Regions from separate parts of the Homo sapiens genome. Here regions 1, 2, 3, 4, 6 and 7 are each linked to region 5. Evidence: promoter capture Hi-C in 16 types of primary human blood cells and fetal thymus (Javierre and others, 2016). All regions are on one chromosome and are shown on one strand. The core of a region is centred on a gene start or on the middle of the fragment in contact, and the rest is flanking DNA. Distances in the headings are between cores, read along the strand shown. Region 1 overlaps LOC124907974 (a long non-coding RNA gene). Region 2 has its middle 19 kb from the start of ABCA12. Region 3 has its middle 60 kb from the start of LINC02862. Region 4 has its middle 8.1 kb from the start of LINC02862. Region 5 holds the start of SPAG16 (sperm associated antigen 16). Region 6 holds the start of ABCA12 (ATP binding cassette subfamily A member 12). Region 7 has its middle 9.1 kb from the start of LINC02862.

Region 1 (2,700 bases), core at 177-2,676, 1.9 Mb before region 5:
TAAAAGAAGTAAAGAGATGGATAAAAGATAATTTATACAAATGGAAACCAAAAGCAGTCAGGAGTAGTTGTACTTACAAAACAGGCTTTAATTCAAAAACATTTAAAAAGACAAAGAAGGTCATTATACAATGATAAAGAGATCAATTCGGCAAAAGGATATAACAATTATAAATTTATATGCACTCAACACCGGAGAACTCTGATACATAAATATTATATTACTAGATGTAGGCCAGGTGTGGTGGCTCACGCCTGTAATCTTAGCACTTTGGGAGGCTGAGATGGATGCTTCACAAGGTCGGGAGTTCAAGACCAGCATGGCCAACATAGTGAAACCCTGTCTCTACTAAAAATATAAAAATTAGCCGGGCACGGTGGCACACGCCTGTAGTCCCAGCTACTCAGGAGGCTGAGGCAGGAGAATTGCTTGAACCCAGAAGGCAAAGGTTGTGGTGAGCCGAGATCACACCACTGCACTCCAGCCTGGGCAACAGAATGAGACTCGGCCTCAAAAAAAAAATTATATTACTAGATGTAAAGGAAAAAATAGACTCCAATACAATGTACAATAATAGTGGGGGACTTCAACACCCCATTCGCAGCAATAGACAGGTCATGTGGACAGAAAACAAAAAAGAAACACTGAACTTAAACTGGACTTTAGACCAATGAACTTAACCTTTACTGTTTCCAATGGCTACAAAATACACATTCGTCTAATTAGCACATGAAACATTCTCCAGGATAAATCACATTAGTTCACAAAAGAAGTCTCAGCAAATTTTTTAAAAATCAAAATCACATCAAGTATGTACTCAGAGCAAGTATCTTTACTGTTAATCTGATTAGATTCCCTTACAGGTGACTAGATACTTTTCTCTTACTGTTTTTACAATTCTCTTTATTTTTGACTTTTTACAGCTTGACTATAATGTGCTGTGGAGAATGTCTTTTTGCATTATAAATATTTGAGAATCTCTGAGCTTCTTGTATCCAGATGTGTAAACATCCTGCTAGACTCGGGAAGTTTTCCACTATTAATAAAACTGGAATAAAAGTGGACTAAAACTAGCAATCAATAAGAGTAACTTTGGAAATGATACAAATACATGGAAGTTAAACAACGTGCTCCTGAATAACCACTGGGTCAATGAAGAAATTAAGAGAGAAAATTTTAAAAATGTATTGAAACAAAAGAAAATTGAAACACAGCATACCCAAAACTATGGGATATAGCAAAAGCAGTGCTAAGATGGACATTTGTAGCAGTAATACCTACATCAGAAAAATGGAAGATTTCAAATAAACAGTCTAATGATGCACCTCAAGGAACTTGAAAAGCAAGAACAAACCACATCCAAGATTAGTGGAAGGAAAGAAACGATAAAGATCAGAGCAGAACTAAATAAAATAGAGACTTAAAAAAACAATACAGGCCGGTCACTGTGGCTCACGCCTGTAATCCCAGCACTTTGGGAGGCCGATGCGGGCGGATCACGAGGTCAGAAGATCGAGACCATCCTGGCTAACACGGTGAAACCCCGTCTCTACTAAAAATACAAAAAATTAGCCGGGCGTGTTGGTGGGCACCTGGTAGTCCCATCTACTCGGGAGGCTGAGGCAGGAGAATGGCGTGAACCTCGGAGGCGGAGCTTGAAGTGAGCCGAGATTGAGCCACTGCACTCCAGCCTGGGCGACAGAGCAAGACTCCATCTCAAAAAAAAAAAAAAAAAAAATACAAAGGATTAATGAAATGAATAGTCTCATTAGAGACTATTATGAACAACTATGCACTAACAAACCGGAAAACCTAGAGGAAATGGATAAATTCCTGAACACATACCATCTTCTAAGGTTGAATCAGAAAAAAAATAGAAAACCTGAACAGACCAATGAGTAACAAGATTAAACCAGTAATAAAAAGTCTCTGAGGAAAGAAAAGCCGAAGACCAGATGCTTCACTGCCAAATTGTACCAAATGTATAAAGAATTAATGCTAATTTTCCTGAAACTATTCCAAAAAGTTGAAGAGGAGGGAATTACCCCTAACTCATTCTATGATACCAGATGCTGTCTCTCCTGCTCTGCCGTGTGAAGATTATGCTTGCTTCCCCTTCGACTTCCACCATGATTATAAGTTTCCTCAGGCCTCCCTAGCCATGCCTCCTGCACAGCCTGTGAAACTGTGATTCAATTAAACCTCTTTTCTTTATGAGTTACCCAGTCTCAGGTAGTTCTTTATAGCAGTGTGAGAAAAGACTAATACAATAATGAAGGACAAAAACCATATGATCATCTCAAAAGATGCAAAAAAAAGCATTTGATAAAATTCAACTTGTCTTCATGATAAAAACTCTTCACAAACCAAAAACCCCACCAAAAAACTCTTAAAACTAAGAAATTCAGTAAAGTCTCAGGATACAAAATCAATAATTAAAATTAGTAATATTTCTATACACCAATAATGAACTAGCTGAAAAAAAATCAAGAAGGCAATACCATTTACAATAGCTACAAAAAATACCTAGGAATAAATTTACCCAAGTGGATGAATGACTACAAGGAAAACTACAAAACACTGATAAAATAAACTGAAGAGGACACAAACAAATGGAAAGACATCTCATGCGCATGGATCAGAAAAATTAACAGTGTTGAAATGCCCATACTACCCAAAGCCATCTATAGATTCAATGCA
Region 2 (2,700 bases), core at 156-2,655, 1.9 Mb before region 5:
GCAAAAGCGATCAGCGTCATTACCAATAAACTGTTTTGTTTATCTTTAATGTGAACGAATGTCATCCAGAAATGGAGCTTCTTCCTGCCTAGTGTCACTGACCACCATTGGCTGCAATGGAAAATATTGATTTAAGGAAATACTGTTTATTCAACAAAAATTTACTGAGTCGAGCACTGTGTAGGCCCTAGAGATACACTGTGATGCCAATACGTGAAGGATTTTAATATTTACAATCTAATGAGGGAGACAAAGAGCAATGAAATAATCACACACAAAAAATGTAAATGCCAACTCTATAAGGGCTACCAAAGAGAAAAGCACAGTGCTGTGGATGTTAGGTTAGACATTTGTAAGAAAATGACTGCCAGAGAGAGTGAGTGGGTATGAAACTCAGAGAGGGCAGGAGGGAAGTGTGTGCAAGACCGTGACCCTGGGAAGGGAAAGAGTGGGATGAAGAGACAGTGAAAGAAAACAGGTAGGGAGAGTTTTGGAGGATGGTGGACTCTAAGTATTAGACCATAGACAGTCTTGTGGACCATTAAGCAGTTCCGTCGTTGTCCTAAACACAAAGGGAAGCCATTCAAGGGCTTTAAGAAAGGGAGTGACATCTTTAGACCTGTGCTTTGAAAAGATCATTTTGGCTGCAATTTGGAGAATAACTTGGAAAGGCAAGAGTGGATGCGTAGTTGTGTGTAGATCATGTATCACTGGTCAAGCCTTATTGAGAACTGTTACATGAAAGCAGCACTTAATTTATAAGAGAATAAAACTAATGGATGTCAAAAAATTCAATCTGATATTCTCCTAGATTAGTGGCTGCTGAAAACTTTCAGGACAAATGACTTAAAAAATCTCTCAGAAGAGAAAATCTACTATATTTCTTGGGAACAGATACTGACATTTGACTATTACAGGGGAACCCATTCAGTGCTTTAAAATGCCATACCTTTTATTGGATAACTTTCACAACAATATTGAGAAGCAATTTGGGAGCATAATTTCAATTTTACAGATGCGGAGTTTAAGAACCTAGGTACAGAGAGACCTAGTGACTTGTCCTGGGTCATGAAAAAATTGAATAGCAGTGCTAACTGTTGACTTTCTTCTCAAGCTTTCAATTCCTTGAGTTGTCTAGATGACTTGGCATTCACCAGAAATGTCTCAGAGCACTTAAAGTTAGACCACAATTAAGCATAATATTGTAGACTTGGCACACATCTCCCTAAGGTTATTCTAAGCATGAAACTGCACCCTTGACCTCAATTTTTACACTTTACATACACGTTTTGTTCACTTTTTCACTTAATTTCATCAATCCCTTCATGTTACTTATTTGTCCTTTAGGTTTATACACAGTAGTTTTATGAACTTATAAGGATGCCACTAAGTTCTCAACTCTACCCCATATAGATTTGCCAAAGGCTGTGTGTTTACTGCAATGAACGTGAGGGAGTTTTGAGAGTTGATGCATGTTAGCCCCATAGAAAATGATGTATATGAACTGTGGCCTTCTAATAAAATCTTTCTCCATTCTTTTTAAGGTGATAAAAGGTAAAATCTATAAATTGTTTCAGAAATTAAATTAATGGTAACAGTAATGTTCTTCCCTAAATGACGATTTTAATTAACGTCTCTTGTTTAACCTGTATTTGTAATATTGACTGCCTATTATCTAGAGTTTCCAAGAAGCTTTAAAAGTGTACTATCTTCTAAAATTCCTGGAGAATGACAATGAATGACTTTCCCACCTTTTTTTTCCCCCGACTACAGGCAGACTTCTGGCCTAGAATCAAAACTCAGAATTTTTATTAGTTTTTTTTTTAATTGCATTAGAGAAAGTAGTTTGAATGGTTTGATTATTCACAGCAATAGGGCATTAGCAGAAAAGAAAATATTTCATATCATAAAGATGTTATAATAGATATTGAAATTCATCTTTGAAATGCTGACAAAGCATTTAACCTTCCATCTTAGTCATTCAACTGTAACTATCTGGGTAAATTCAGGCAAAAGCCTTTCATGTGTTTTTAACTAAAACATCCTACTAATGGGGAGAAGTCTCGGGCTTGATTGAAATTATACATATATATTTCTACTTAAACCTTTATATTCTATTAGGCCAGTATATTCTTTTTGGCAAAGATTTCTAATTTTACCATTATTTAGTCAAAGTATTTGGAACTCTTTGGATCCAGTAATCAAGTAAATAAAAGTCTGGAAGATTAACTTAGTGGGTAAAATTGTGGGAAAAAGTTTAAGGAGGAGCAGGATTTTTGCATAGTCTCAAAGTGTCCTACTGAAAATAGTCATTCTACAGTGAAGAAACTTGGCATGCATTACTTCAACCAAGGCTCATAACTAACATTTGGCAAATGATATAATGGTGATGTTAACAGTGTGTCCTAGAGAAAAATTTCGTGTTCTTTGATCATGTATCCTCACGATGAAATAAAAGCCTGGTAAAATGTAAGCTCCATAATGTTTATCATCAGGGGCATAAACTTTTTTTTTTTTTTCTTTGGAGACAGAGTCTCACTCTGTCGCCCAGGCTGGAGTGCAGTGGTATGATCTCAGCTCACTGCAACTTCCGCCTCCTGGGTTCAAGTGATTCTAGCCTCCAGAGTAGCTGGGATTACAGGTGCCCGCCATCACACCCGGCTAATTTTTTTGTATATTTAGTAGAGATGGGGTTTTGCC
Region 3 (2,700 bases), core at 153-2,652, 1.9 Mb before region 5:
TTAATAATATTAATTGAATAAATTCTGCTTTTTTAATGTAAGCATGGCTCTAGACATTTTAAACACATTACAGTATTTAATGCTTGCAACATCTTTGCAAGGCGGATTCGTTATCTCCATTTTAAAGGAGAGAATTAGACTCAGGGAGGCATAGGTGTCTAACTAGAAGATATTAGAGCCAAATTTCAAGGAGAAGACCTGTCAGATTCTTCTAGGTCTGCTACCTTTCTTCATTAGGGTCTGCACTCAATACATGTTGGATAAATAAATGTTCTTAAAATATAGTATTTATAAATTATATGATAATTGTCTGGTCTGCATTTAATTTTAAGGAACTAATGGGCATTCAAACTTAAGCTACTGGCATGTTCTGAGATGGACATTTTGATTCTAATATGAGTAAGCATCCGGGTATTACATTCATTTACAAGCTTTGGATATGTTCTAGCGATTCTGATACACCTTGTTTGCTCACACACCCCTCCTCCACAGCACATTGATTTGCCCCCTTACACCTACGAGCGAGGGGACTCCTTCTTGCTTACATAAGGTACCTTCTTTTTAGAGTAGCACTATGATAAACACATGTTCAACTGCAGTCATTTTGGGCAAGACTTTGGGTTTAAAAGTATGATGAATTGACGTAATTCTCATTATAATTACAAAGTGCAAACTACACAAACTCCTCTTGATCTCTCTAGGCAAACACTTTTGCTAAACACTCTCTTGGGGGTCTCATTACCATAGGAAAGACTGCCTGGGACAGTTTGCAAACTGTCATTGACCACCAACCTTGAATGAAGTGTGAAGGCAAACAAAGAGGAAGTGATCATGTGTTATGTAAAAATAATTTAGAATATTTTTAACAGGTCTTTATCTTAAGAAGGGTTGAATAAAGCAATGATCAAAGACGAACAATTTTTAACTTTTACATATTGTTCTCTATGCCAGGAAATGTTCAAAGTGGCCTACTTGAGTTTTCTCATTTAATCCTTCTATGAGATAGGCGCTATTAATTTCATCTTACAGATGAAGACACTGAGCAGGCAGTGCCTTGCCAAGGGTCACACCCTTAGCAAGGAGTGATGGCAGGATTCAAACCAACATCTATCAAACTGCAAGGTCCACATCTGTAACTTCCCAAACTGCTTCTGAGAAATCTTCATTGTCTCAAGGATTGAGAAACCTTGACACAGTATAGGATGTCTGTGAACATCTAAAACTTCACATGTTCACAATAGACCCTTTCCTCTCCCACCCCACATCCACCCTGATTTTCCCTCTCCCTCTCTCGCTCCCTCCCTCCCTCTCTCTCTCTCTCCTTTTCTTTTTTCTTCTCTTCCCTTTTCTTTTCTCTTCTTTCTTCTACCAGGACAACAATTCACATGGTCACGAAGCTGGAAATGTTGACATCTCTCAACTGCTCTTAGTATTTAATTAGTTGCACAGCTCTGTGGCTTCTCCTGTGCATTGTGCCTTGAGTCTATCTCTCACTTTTCCTGTCTATTCCTATGACTTGATCTCAGTGCTCATTGCTTCTCATCTGGAAAATTGACGTCATTTTCTTACTAGTTCTCCTACCTCCTTTATTATTATTATTATTTTGGTCCATCCTATCATTATGCCAATATTCATCCTAAAGCTAAGCTATGATAATTCCTCTCCTCTGAGTTTTAAAAACAAGTCTTTATGTCTTCTGTATATGGAATTATGTCCAAATTTCTCACTTGAGGTTGTGGGGAGATGAATTGAGATCTTATTCCCTACTGCTATCGGGAAAGATGTGAGGATTTTTTCAACCAGAGAGAGCCATTATCCACTAAGGTTGTGGCCCTTACATTCAAGCAGCCACAGGAAGTAGTCACATGCTTGTTATCACAATGAGTCCCAGGTTGCTATTTCACAAGCAATGCAATCAAAGCCATGTTGCAAAGAGAAGTATGACTTCCCCATAGGAGATTAAATTGTGTTGTTTGGAAAAGAAAATTAATGTTTGCTCTAGTGAGATTTGTTTGCCTTTAGGTAACCTGGGAGGCTGACAGCAGTAGCCTTTGCTGCTTCAGCTTCTTCCTCACCTCAAGAGACCAGAACCCACCTATCCCAGTTGAGAGCCTGAAACTCCTAAGCAAAGGAAGGGCTGCGTTACTCTATTTGATTGAAGATTGAGGTTTCCATGACAAATACAAGATGCAGCTGTTTCCCTACAGGGAAAGGGGTGGAGTTTTAAGAGTGAAGGGGATTGAGATTCCAGATGTTGAGAGTAAGATTAAAAAGGGATTATGGGATGATTGTGAGAGGGATTTAAAAGATAAACCACAGTTGGGAATGAGAGGAACACCTCCTTCTCTATCACTCTCTGTAAGTATAAGCTTTTATTTTGATGTTTCTTTTCTTTCCTTTTCCTCCCCTTTCTTCCTATCTGCCTCCTCCTTCTCCCCCTCTTCATTTTTCATGGAATTCTAAGAATTGTATGGAATCAATATAATCTATGGAATCCATATGTTTCAACCACACTGTAAAGTATTCTTCTCCTCCTCTTCCTTCTACACTTCCTCCTCTTCTCCTCCTTCTCTCATCCTCCTCCTCTTCTCCTTCTCTTTCATCCCCCTCCTCTCCTCCTCTCCTCCTCCACGTCTTCATAAATCAGTTTGATTATTGTCTGTCTCCCTCTATTAAAATGTAAGCTCCACAAGGACAAAT
Region 4 (2,700 bases), core at 80-2,579, 2.0 Mb before region 5:
GAAATCCTCCTGCCTCAGCCTCCTGAGTAGCTAAGACTACAGTTGTGTGCCACCACACCCAGCTAACAGGTGTTTTTAAAATACGTTTTAATTATTTTGAAAGAGTTTCAAAGTTTCAGAAAAAATACAAGAAAAACACAATAAACTCTCACATACCCTTCACTCAAACTCCTCAATTGTTTTGGAACGATCAAATTGGCATGATCTTGGCTCACTGCAACCTCTGCCTCCTGGATTCAAGCGATTCTCGTTCCTCAGCCTCCCAGTTACCTGGACTACAGGCACGCACCACCACACCTGACTAATTTTTGTATTTTTAGTAGAGACAGCATTTCCTTACATTGGCCAGGCTGGTCTCGAACTCCTGACCTCAGGTGATCCACCTACCTCGGCTTCCCAAATTGCTGGGATTACAGGCATTACAGGTGTGAGCCACTGCACCTGACCTGTTTGGGTTTTTTTTGTGTGTGTGTGACAGCATCTCACTGTGTTGCCTAGGCTGGTCTCAAACTCCTGGACTCAAGTGATCCTCCTGCCTTAGCCTCCCAAGTAGCTGAGATTACAGGTGCATGCCACCGCACCTGGCAATTTAAAAGAAAAAAAAACATATTTGCTTCATCATTGGCACTCTCTCTCTCTCTCTCTATACACACACACACACACACACACACACACACACATATATATTCATTCCACAGATGTATCATGTATATTATATATTCATATATAACACATATTTTATATTTTTACCCCTAAGCCATTTGAGAATTACAAACGTGCCCTATTACCTTTTGACAATTCAGTATGTAGCTTCTAACAACAAGAGCACTCTCCCACCTAATGAGAGTTCAACCATGAAAATGAGAAAATTGGGGTTTATTCCTTACCATGTTGAGTGTTTTTTTTTTTTTTTTTTTGGTAAACTTTTTGTCTGAGAATAACATACATACAGACAAGGGCACAAATCATAAGTATACATCTGAAGGAATATCCAGCAAGTGAACACACTTGCATAACCAGCAGACAAATGAGGAAATAGATTATTATCAACATCCAAAAGCTCCCCACCCTATGTCATATCTTAGTTGCTTCCTCCTCCTCTTCAAAGGTGACCATTATCCTGATTTCCATCACCATAAATTAGTGTTGCCTGCTTTTGAACTTTATATGAATGGAATTACATACTATGTACCCCCCCTCCTTTTTTTTTAGATGGCGTTTCACTCTTGTTGTCCAGGCTGCAGTGCAATGACACCATCTCAGCTTGTCTCCTGGGTTCAAGCCATTCTCCTGCCTCAGCCTCCTGAGTAGCTGGGATTACAAGCATGCGCCACCACACCCGGCTAATTTTGTATTTTTAGTAGAGATGGGGTTTCTCCATGTTGGTCAGGCTGGTCTCGAACTTCCAACCTCAGGTGATCTGCCCGCCTCAGCCTCCCAAAGTGCTGGGATTACAGGCATGAGCCACCGCACCCGGCCCCCACTTTTTGTTTTAAAAAACAGCTTTTTTCCACTCAATATTACATATGTGAAATCTATTATTATTGCTGGAAATATCTGTAATTTGTTTATTTCTCATTGCTATACAGTATTTCTTGTGTGAACACATCCCAATTTATCCTTTCTACTGCTATTGGACATACAGATCATTCTCTGTTTTTGGCTATCAATATTTTTGTACTTTTTTGGTGCACATGTGTATACATTTCTGTTGGGTTTACTACTAGAAGTGGAATGGTTATGTGACAAGGTGTATGCAGTTTAGCTTTAGTACCTCCTGTACTGCCAAATAATTCCCCAGAGTGATTGTACACAATCTTCAGCAGTATATGAGAGTTTCATTTGCCTCATATCCTTACCAGCACTAAATGTTATCATTATTTTTTATTCTAGCCCTCTGGTGGGTGAACAGTTTTTCTCGTTGTTGTTTTCTTTTTTTTTTCTTTTCTTTTTTTTTTTTTGAGACAAGAGTCTCGCTCAGCTGCCCAGGCTGGAGTGCAGTGGCACAATCTTGGCTCACTGCAACCACCATCTCCGGGGTTCAAGTGATTCCCCCATCTCAGCCTCCCGAGTAGCTGGGGTTATAGGCACCAACCATCATGCCCAGCTAATTTTTGTATTTTAGTAGAGACAGGGTTTCACCACATTGGCTGGTCTTGAACTCCTGACCTCAGGTGATCCACCTGCCTCGGCCTCCCAAAGTGCTGGGATTACAGGCGTGAGCCACCATGCCCAGTCTCATTGTTGTTTTAATTTGAATACCCTATGGCTAATGAGGTTAAGTATCCTTTTATATACTTACATACTACTTGAATATACTCTTTTGGGATGTGCTTGTGAAGTGCTAGATTTTAAATATCCTTACCTGACCCCAAAGTTGATTTTTTAAATTTATTTTTCTAAATTCTTCATATACGTCATGAAATAAGTAAAGTTTTACTTGGGAGAGATGAACTATGCTGTAACTGTACCAGCATCAGTTGTTTTAGTTATCTATTTATCACTGCACACAGAGCAAATTACTCCAAAACTTACTGGCTTCAAACAATAATAAACATTTATGATAGCATAAATTTCCTGAAGGTGAAGAATCCGGGGGCACATTAGGTCATTCTGGCTCAGGATCTCTCATGAGGTTAACAGTCAAGATGCCAGCTGGGGCATTTGAGAGGGGCTGGAGGACTTGCTTCAAGATGGCCG
Region 5 (2,700 bases), core at 17-2,516:
GTAAAAGTCGTTTTTGCACCCAATAAAATACTACATATTTTCTTTAATCTTTCAGCTAAATTCTTCAAAGCTCTCTGTAGTGTGGATGTGTACTGAGCCTGAGTCAGGACAGGTTAATCGGCTTGTCAAAGCTCACGAAATGAATCATTGCTGGATTTCTGAAATCTTGAATTAAACCTGGAGAGGATTACAGTTGGACAAACAAATAAGATTTGGCAGATTTTGGAGTTTCCTTGGTATCTTTAAGAACTGAACAGATAATCATCTCTTTCTTACCTCCCTGAATAAAGGAGTTACATGTCTTTTTCTCATGAACCCTCCCCGTCTCCCTAGTAGGAATTAATCTATATAACTAGAGGAAAGAAGTTCTAAAGCCTTACACAAGAAATAGTGGACCTAATTATCCACACATTGTTATTCAATTTTTCTGGTACTTCCGATAAAAATCGCTAATCACCATCTGCTTTATTCCTAATATCTCTGAGCTGTGTAGCTCACCAGATCATTATTTATTTGCTCAAGAAAAAAAAGCAACTATACTATTAGTATTTATTATTAAGTAGTCAAACTTGGAACTACTCAGGAAGATAATGCTATCAAAACTAAGCATTTAAGCATTAACTGGACCATCGAACAGGATCGTGGGTTGGGTATTCTGAGCTTCAGCTCCTTAAAGTCCAATGGCAGAGGTCTTTCCCTAGTCTCCTAACGTTCCTCCGTTGAATTTATTGGGACGGCTTTCTGAAAGATTGAGGGCTTATTTAGGAAACCCATTATTTGAAAGGAGGGTTGAAGCAATTTGTTGTGCTGTCTTAACATAAAAAGCAACCCTCCATCCAAAATGTACTGAGTGGTTACTAAGTATGAGGCCTTGGAAGGTCTCCCAACTCTTCTAACAGGTACAGGACACCCTGGGCTACTAAGGGCGAGAAATTCAGTGAGTGGCTCTCAGGAAGACTGTGGTGGCAAAAACAGCACCTTGAAGTCCAACAGAGGCTCCTCCGGAGTGGCCCCAAGGCTCAAAAGGCGCCGCCAGTGGGAGGCCCTCGCCTTCGTCCCAACACCCATTACCCGCCAGCGCAGCGGGCCGCGCCTCCACGGGAAGGATACGTTCCAGGTAGTAGGCGCCCTCAGCCGCCACCGCGTCCGCCGTGTCCCTCGCGTCCCCGGCTGCCGTCAAACCCATGCCCAACGCCTCTTCCAGGACCCTCACGGCGGAGCTGGGCATCCCTCGCTGAGCAGCCATCTCTGGCGCTTCGGGCCCCCACCCCCAGCAGGCCCACAGCCGTCCCTAAGGGCAACAGCGAAGACGCTACCCAACGGCCCCCGGGAGCTCTCGCGAGATTCCGGCATCTCTCACCCCGCCCCACGGACCAGCCCCGGGCACGTAAGGGTTACCGGGAGTCCAGGGAGCTGTCGCCCTCCCGCGCCTCCCAGTTACCGTGGCAACGATGTTGCCTAGTTAACGCGAGAGCTCGGGCGCAGCTCTGGGAGCGGACAAGATACAGTAAACAATTGGCTTGCATTGCACCTTCCTACCCAAGCAGCTTGGTTTTCTTTCGCTTTGACCCTGTAATTTCTTTCCCACTTCGTTGTCGTCTCTGAATTACCTTTCTCTTGATTCTTGCCCATTAGCATCCTCCAATTTCAGATGTTTGTAGATCCCCAAGTGTTCCCAGGGAAAACTACTAGAAAAGGTGAGTTCTCAACACCTGGAATTTTTTAAAAAATGAAAAAATAAAGTTCTAGAAATCATAATAGAAAGACTGACCCAGGGGAGCTACCAGACGCTCCTCAGATGCTTAGCAATGAAGAACTATGGTGTTCAGCTTTGTCAATTCCTTTCTTGTGATCTTTAATGCATTTAGCTGGACATCTGTTTTGAGTTTGGTTCCATATACTAAGACTTGGAATAGTATTTGTAGCATTGATTCTCGCCAAGGTAAAAACAGTTGCATAAAAATTATGAGCTACAAATTTGGTCCTGACAAATGTATGCAGTTGACACTTGCCCCATCATGTATAGTCTTATTGCTGAGAGGATCTTCCTCAGGTTATATCGCGTATGTATCAGAAGCAAATTCAAGGCCCTTTTCTTTGCAAATATTTTTTTTTCCCTTAACTTTTATTTTAGGTTCAGGGGTACAAGTGCAGGTAAGCTCATGTCGCAGGGGTTTGGTATATAACTTATTTCGTCACCCAGGTACTAAGTGTAGTACCCAATAGTTATTTTTTCTGATCTTCTCCCTCCTCCCACTCTCCTCCTCAAGTAGGCCCCAGTGTCTGTTGTTCCTTCTTTGTGTCCATTTGTTCTCATTATTTAGCTCCCACTTACAACTAAGAACATGCAGTATTTGGTTTTCTGTTCCTGCATTAGTTTGCTAAGGATAATGGCCTCCAGCTGCATTCATGTCCCTGAGAGGACATGATCTCATTCTTCTGTGGCTGCATAGTATTCCATGGTATATGTGTACCACATTTTCTTTATCCAGTCCGTTGATGGGCATTTAGGTTGAATCCATGTCTTTATCATGAATATCAATGAACACGCATGTACATGTGTTTTTATGGTAGAACAATTTCTGTTTCTTTGGGTATATACCCAGTAATGGGATTGCTAGGGCAAATGGTATTATTTTTCATTCTACATTTCTTGGTGAAAACTGGAAGCCAGTGATCCTATAAAAGCTCCCATTTATT
Region 6 (2,700 bases), core at 14-2,513, 1.9 Mb before region 5:
CTTACTATGAGGCAGGACCTGTGCTAGATTCCTTTTTTTGGAGGGGGGATGGAATCTCACTCTTTTGCCCAGGCTGGAGTGCAGTGGCGCCATCTCAGCTCACTGCAACCTCTGCCTCCCGGTTTCAAGCGATTCTCCCTCCTCAGCCTCCCAAATAGCTGGGATTACAGGTGCCCACCACCATGCCTGGCTAATTTTTGTGTTTTTAGTAGAGACGGGGTTTCACCATGTTTGCGAGGCTGGTCTTGAACTCCTGACCTCAAGTGATCAGCCCGTCTCGGCCTCCCAAATTGCTGGGATTACAGGCATGAGCCACCGCACCTGGCGAAGGGAGAACTCTTAATGCTTTAACGGATTTTGCAAGTAAAGTCTGGATTAGTCAGGGTAGGTGTGAGGATCAAAGGGGAGCTTCACCCTACTAGCCTTGGCTCCAGTAGTTTATTCAATTACATTCAGCAGCAAGTATTGAACACTAATGATATGTAAAGTACTGTGATATAAAATAGTCCATGTCCTCAAATAATTTATAATCTTGTAGGAAAAATAAGACATACACAAATAAAAATAATGCAAAAACTTTAAGTTCCTTGAGAGAGGGCAACAAAGAATGATTCAAAGGCAAGAGAATCTATCCTATGGGATATATCCAAAAAGGCTTCATTGAAGATGTCAACTTGGGGATAACTTTGAAAGGCAGGATCTTAGAGAGGGAGGAATGTATCATGGAAAGAGGAAATAGAAATGTCTTGGATCAGCCTGTGTCCCCTTTCACTATAAGAGCCTGAAACAATGTGGCTTGTCTGTAATAGACACGTGAATCTCCACTCACGAATTGAGGGACTCCAGTTTGTAATTTATGTCCCCTACAGCCTACCTTTCCTTTTCTGCCCTGTGCTTAACCTAGTACATTGTGATGAAAGGTGGGACCTGGCCAACATAGTTTCTTCCCCCAAAATCGAAACATTCAACTTTAGGTTAAAGGTGGACACTTTCCCTAGTATATCTAATGATGGGCTGAGGCTCAGAGCTTTGCAGCTAAGCTCTGGCCTTATTGACTTAAATCATTTTAATGACACTTTAATATTAAAGAGTCACTGGGCCCAGTGTCTGTGAAATGCTCTCTGTGCCCTGCCTCTGCTAGAGCAGACACTGTGTGCAGGAAAGAAGACAAGAGAATGTAGGACAAGTCCTACTGGCCTTGCAAAGGTCCCACCCCCTAGTCCCTGTGACGCATCCAGTGCAGGTGACATGTTCTCTAAGGTGTGGATAGGCAATTAATTTCATGGAGAGTAGGAGGTGTGGGTTCAGCTGCTGCTTTTTTTTTTTTTTCAGTGAGGCATTATCTGAATGATGCTCATTCTCTCTTGAGTCTGGACTTCGTGCAACAAGCAGCAACTGGATATTATTTTAAAATAAGCATAAGCCACCCAAAGATACTGATCTGGGTCCTTCTTTTGGAAGAAGAGTTGATTGAGAAGTGCCTCTTGGTTAAGGATTAACCACAGGGAAAAATCCAGCAGAAACAGAAGAACTGTGGGTTTCTTACCCCAGCCCTCAAGGAAGCTATGCCGTGAAAGGGGTACTGATACACTGACATACAGCAAGTTGGACGGGGCATCAGTTCTTCATTTGTGGAGTGGAGAAAAGAAGAGGAAATCTCTCATTTGGGGCATTTGAAGGATGGCTTCCCTGTTTCATCAGCTTCAGATCCTGGTCTGGAAAAATTGGCTAGGTGTAAAAAGGCAGCCGGTGAGTTAAAAAAAAGTGTGGGAGTATGGGTCATGGGGCAATACGCCAGGTAATCCTAAAATGTGATCTTAATGAGAAGTGAAAACAGAAGAGTTTAAAGGCATTTTCCAAAGCAGGAAGTAAGATATTTAGAATTCATCCCCCTATCTGTCTTATAGCTAATGGAGCGAGTCTTAACATGCCCCCAAAAGCAGCCTTTTCATTTCAGTAAATTAAAGAGTAAACCAGGACATGCCCTGGGCAAAAAAAAAAGAACATGACTCATTACTGGCTGAACTGGAACGTTGAATTCTGGTTTCAAGCCAAAAGGCTTTCAGAATTTTTCTTAATGTAGTTAAAAATGGGATAGAGGAAAGAAAAGTATTATTTGAAATGTACAATAAATGGGAAGAAATATACTGGAAAACTGAAAGCCATAGAAAGTTTGGTTGAAAGGTAAAATACAGAACAGAAATAGTTTGAAGGCTATTAGTATAGAAAAGCTACTGAGAAATTTTAGTATCTAAAAATCATTTACTGGGAATACCAAACAAGAGTATGTATATGTGCTATGTTTTAAGAATATTATTGAATCACTTAGCTTTACTACTACAATCTATCTTCTCTTGCTCATTGCAACGTCTTTTTTGTACTCTTACATTAATGTTTGCGTTCTAATTACAAAGTTAGCTATTAGATCCTCATCAGATGGCTCCCAGGATGATTGAGAAAGGAATTGGTTTCTGGGAGTTGTTATATATTCAGAAGAATGTTTGAAAATCGGGGAAATCCAAAAAGGTATTCAATATACTTTATTTTAAAGTGGTAATTCCCAGCCTTGAATGAGTAATGTAAATATTATGCAAATAATATGCATCACACAGAAACCAGCACTTTATCTATGCACCTTATCTCGCTCCAGGCTTGCTTGGATTGCCTGACACTTTACTTGAGTGTTTTGATGTGTGTAGT
Region 7 (2,700 bases), core at 180-2,679, 2.0 Mb before region 5:
GCACAGTCTTGGCTCACTGCAACCTCTGCTTCCTCAATCAAGAGATTCTTCTGCCTTGTCTTGCCAAGTAGCTGGGATTACAGGTACCTGCCACCATGCCCGGCTAATTTTTGTATTTTTAGTAGAGATGGGGTTTCACCATCCTGGCCAGGCTGGTCTTGAACTCCCGACCTCAGGTGATCTGTCCACGTTGGCCTCCCAAAGTGCTGGGATTACAGGTGTGAGCCACCACGCCTGGCGAGTATGTATTTATATATGAACTTTAAGATGCTATTAGACATGCAAGTGAAGAAATTGATTAGGCAGTGAGATTTGAGAGTTTGGGGCTCGGGAGAGAAGACTGGGCTGAATGAGGTGCAGGAGTCATCAGTGTTCTAGGTATGCAACTGGACGTCATGAGAATACTTATTCCCAAGCACTTAATGTTAAGAGGACAAGGTGAAGAGGGGGAACCAGTGAAGGAGACAGGAAAGGATCAGTGGTGAGGCAGCAGGACAGCCAAGAGGGTCTAGTGTTCAGGAAGAAAGAAAGGAGAATGGATAGAAGAGCCAGCAACTGCCTGTGAAGCTCCATGCCTAGACTCTGCAACCCTCAGGCAACTTCCACCCAGAAGCATGATAAAGTGGCCTTGCACTGTGGAAATTTTCCTCTGAAAGAAAACAGGTGGGGACATTTATCTCATTCCGGTGGGGACATTTATCTCATTCCTACTTCCTCCCCCGCATCAATCACAGATTTGCTTTATTTAAAAAAAAATCTTAGTATCAATTAAATTTTACTATCTAAGAATAAAATGCAGTAAAGAGAAATGTTGAAATGATGTAAACCATCGGACCTTCTGCACTTTACGAAATTTGATACTTCCTTCTTATGCATGTGTCATTTGATTATTTCAATAGTCTCTCAGATTGGAAGAGCTTGTATGATCCCATTTTATAGGTGCAAAAACTGAAGCTTAGAGATATTATTTGCTGAAACTGCTTTTTTGGCCTAGTAAGTATTACAGATTTCCGCAAAGCATATATTTTCATAATGTGCATTTGGGACTAAAATTTGAAGCATACCATAGCTATGTGAAGACTGACAATTTTTTCTGACTTTTTCTCACACAGGGTACTTTATAAAGACATATTTAAAAATATTTATTCTTGACATTTTGGAAGAAACTTGGGGAATTTTCACCCAGAAAATACAATCCTTTTACATTTAAAATTCATAGGAAGACAGTTGTAATATATATATAGGAAATTCTTCTTTGTAGGGCAGCTTTGCAAAAGTTACCAAAATCTGAACTTTTGTATGTCCAACTTTGATCCAACAATTCTACAACTAGAAATTTACCTTAAAAAAATCAGAGAGAAAAGAGTTAGACTAAAGTATATTTGTTACCTAAAAAAATTGGAAACAACCTGAATAAATGTTGTCATATCAAGAAAATGGGCCAGGCACAGTGGCTCATGCCTGTAATCCCAGCACTTCAGGAGGCCGAGGCGGGTGGATCACTTCAGGTCAGGAGTTCAAGACCAGCCTGGCCAACATGGCAAAACCCTGTCTCTACTATAAATACAAAAAATTAGCCAGGCACGGTGGCAGGCGCCTGTAATCCCAGCTGCTGGGGAGGCTAAGGCAGCAAAATGGCTGGAACCTGGGAGGCGGAGGTTGCAGTGACCTGAGATTGCACCATTGTACTCCAGCCTGGGCAACAAGAGTGAAACTCTGTCTCAAAAAAAAAAAAAAAAAAAAGAATGCTGCAAAACTGAAAAATGATGCAACACAACATTTAATGACTGCATAGCTAAGTAGGAGAGGAAAGCAGGTTGATAAGCAGTATGTATGATGTCGCCCCATTTTTATTATAAATTATATCTATAAATTGAGGAATAACTGGAGGTCCACAAGCTTTTTCTGTGAAGAGCCAGATAGTAAATATTTTAGGCTTTATATGGTTCCTATTACAACTACTCAGCTCAGTTGTAGTGCAAAAATAATCGCCCACAGTATAGGCATAGCTGAATTCAGCCCCTGGGGTACATAGTAGTTTGTAGACCCCTGCTCTATCATTGTAAACATTGATTATCTCTGGGAGCTATAATTCTAGATTTAATATGCTTTGTTGTTTTTGCTTCTCCACAAGGTCGTAGATCATTTTTAAATTTCTTATAAAAGTACAAGATTTGATGAAATTATAATAAAGCATTTAATTATTTTTTTTGTATTATTAAGATAGACTATTGTTAGTAATTCAATCCGAATAGGATTAGGTCGCATAAATATTACAAAACTTTTATCAGAAGAATATATTAAAATAAAGGCAACTGTTGATTCCTTGGATACTGAGCATATTCTTTTATAGCCTAGTTATGATGTTTTATTTTCTATGCAATATGTGCTCAAAAATATGATTATTTTAATATTAGCTTCAAAAAAATATAATTAGAAATTAGGAAGTTTGGTAGGACAAATAGAGCTTGCATTTCAAATAATTTTCCAAAGACTTCTAGATTTTGAAGTGTGTGTGGCGTTCTTTGCCTCACTGGAAGAGAGAACCGGTCAATTAATTGTGTAACTCAAATATCTTCTGGAGCTCTTAGGCCTTCCAGCCTTGTCAGTGGTGTACTGGTAAATGTTTAACAACCAGCACTGGTGGGGGATGGCGAGGAGGGAAAACTCAGATTTGTAGCATTTGCCAATTTCTGTGGT

The links. Contacts are between HindIII fragments. The CHiCAGO score rates a contact against its expected background, and 5 or more counts as called.
Region 1: a contact is called between a fragment that was not itself captured here and the fragment with the promoter of SPAG16 in region 5, in 1 of 17 cell types (naive CD8 T cells). The highest score is 5.2, in naive CD8 T cells.
Region 2: a fragment that was not itself captured here is called in contact with the fragment with the promoter of SPAG16 in region 5 in 2 of 17 cell types (naive CD8 T cells and total CD8 T cells); the score reaches 6.0 in naive CD8 T cells.
Region 3: a fragment that was not itself captured here is called in contact with the fragment with the promoter of SPAG16 in region 5 in 1 of 17 cell types (naive CD8 T cells); the score reaches 6.7 in naive CD8 T cells.
Region 4: a contact is called between a fragment that was not itself captured here and the fragment with the promoter of SPAG16 in region 5, in 10 of 17 cell types (naive CD8 T cells, non-activated CD4 T cells, total CD4 T cells and 7 more). The highest score is 21.8, in naive CD8 T cells.
Region 6: the fragment with the promoter of ABCA12 here is called in contact with the fragment with the promoter of SPAG16 in region 5 in 1 of 17 cell types (M0 macrophages); the score reaches 5.3 in M0 macrophages.
Region 7: a contact is called between a fragment that was not itself captured here and the fragment with the promoter of SPAG16 in region 5, in 10 of 17 cell types (total CD4 T cells, naive CD8 T cells, activated CD4 T cells and 7 more). The highest score is 15.1, in total CD4 T cells.

Annotation. Positions count from the first base shown.
Region 1 is chr2:215,177,565-215,180,264 of GRCh38, reverse strand. It overlaps LOC124907974 (a long non-coding RNA gene), which reads left to right. Exons shown (of 2, transcript XR_007088074.1): 2 at 924-2,700. Among named protein-coding and RNA genes, the nearest start is that of ABCA12, 40 kb to the right of the region's middle. The HindIII fragment of the contact is 4,431 bases long and covers 1-2,700 here.
Region 2 is chr2:215,155,912-215,158,611 of GRCh38, reverse strand. No RefSeq gene overlaps it. Among named protein-coding and RNA genes, the nearest start is that of ABCA12, 19 kb to the right of the region's middle. The HindIII fragment of the contact is 578 bases long and covers 1,117-1,694 here.
Region 3 is chr2:215,213,881-215,216,580 of GRCh38, reverse strand. No RefSeq gene overlaps it. Among named protein-coding and RNA genes, the nearest start is that of LINC02862, 60 kb to the left of the region's middle. The HindIII fragment of the contact is 1,938 bases long and covers 434-2,371 here.
Region 4 is chr2:215,281,783-215,284,482 of GRCh38, reverse strand. No RefSeq gene overlaps it. Among named protein-coding and RNA genes, the nearest start is that of LINC02862, 8.1 kb to the right of the region's middle. The HindIII fragment of the contact is 5,494 bases long and covers 1-2,700 here.
Region 5 is chr2:213,283,030-213,285,729 of GRCh38, reverse strand. SPAG16 (sperm associated antigen 16) reads right to left here and starts at 1,266. Exons shown (of 16, transcript NM_024532.5): 1 at 1,111-1,266. The coding sequence starts at 1,246. It overlaps SPAG16-DT (SPAG16 divergent transcript), which reads left to right and starts at 1,521. Exons shown (of 3, transcript NR_161186.1): 1 at 1,521-1,697. RefSeq lists enhancers at 864-943, 1,014-1,063, 1,104-1,233. The HindIII fragment of the contact is 3,357 bases long and covers 1-2,700 here.
Region 6 is chr2:215,137,189-215,139,888 of GRCh38, reverse strand. ABCA12 (ATP binding cassette subfamily A member 12) reads left to right here and starts at 1,263. Exons shown (of 53, transcript NM_173076.3): 1 at 1,263-1,749. The coding sequence starts at 1,681. The HindIII fragment of the contact is 8,560 bases long and covers 1-2,700 here.
Region 7 is chr2:215,264,491-215,267,190 of GRCh38, reverse strand. No RefSeq gene overlaps it. Among named protein-coding and RNA genes, the nearest start is that of LINC02862, 9.1 kb to the left of the region's middle. The HindIII fragment of the contact is 945 bases long and covers 957-1,901 here.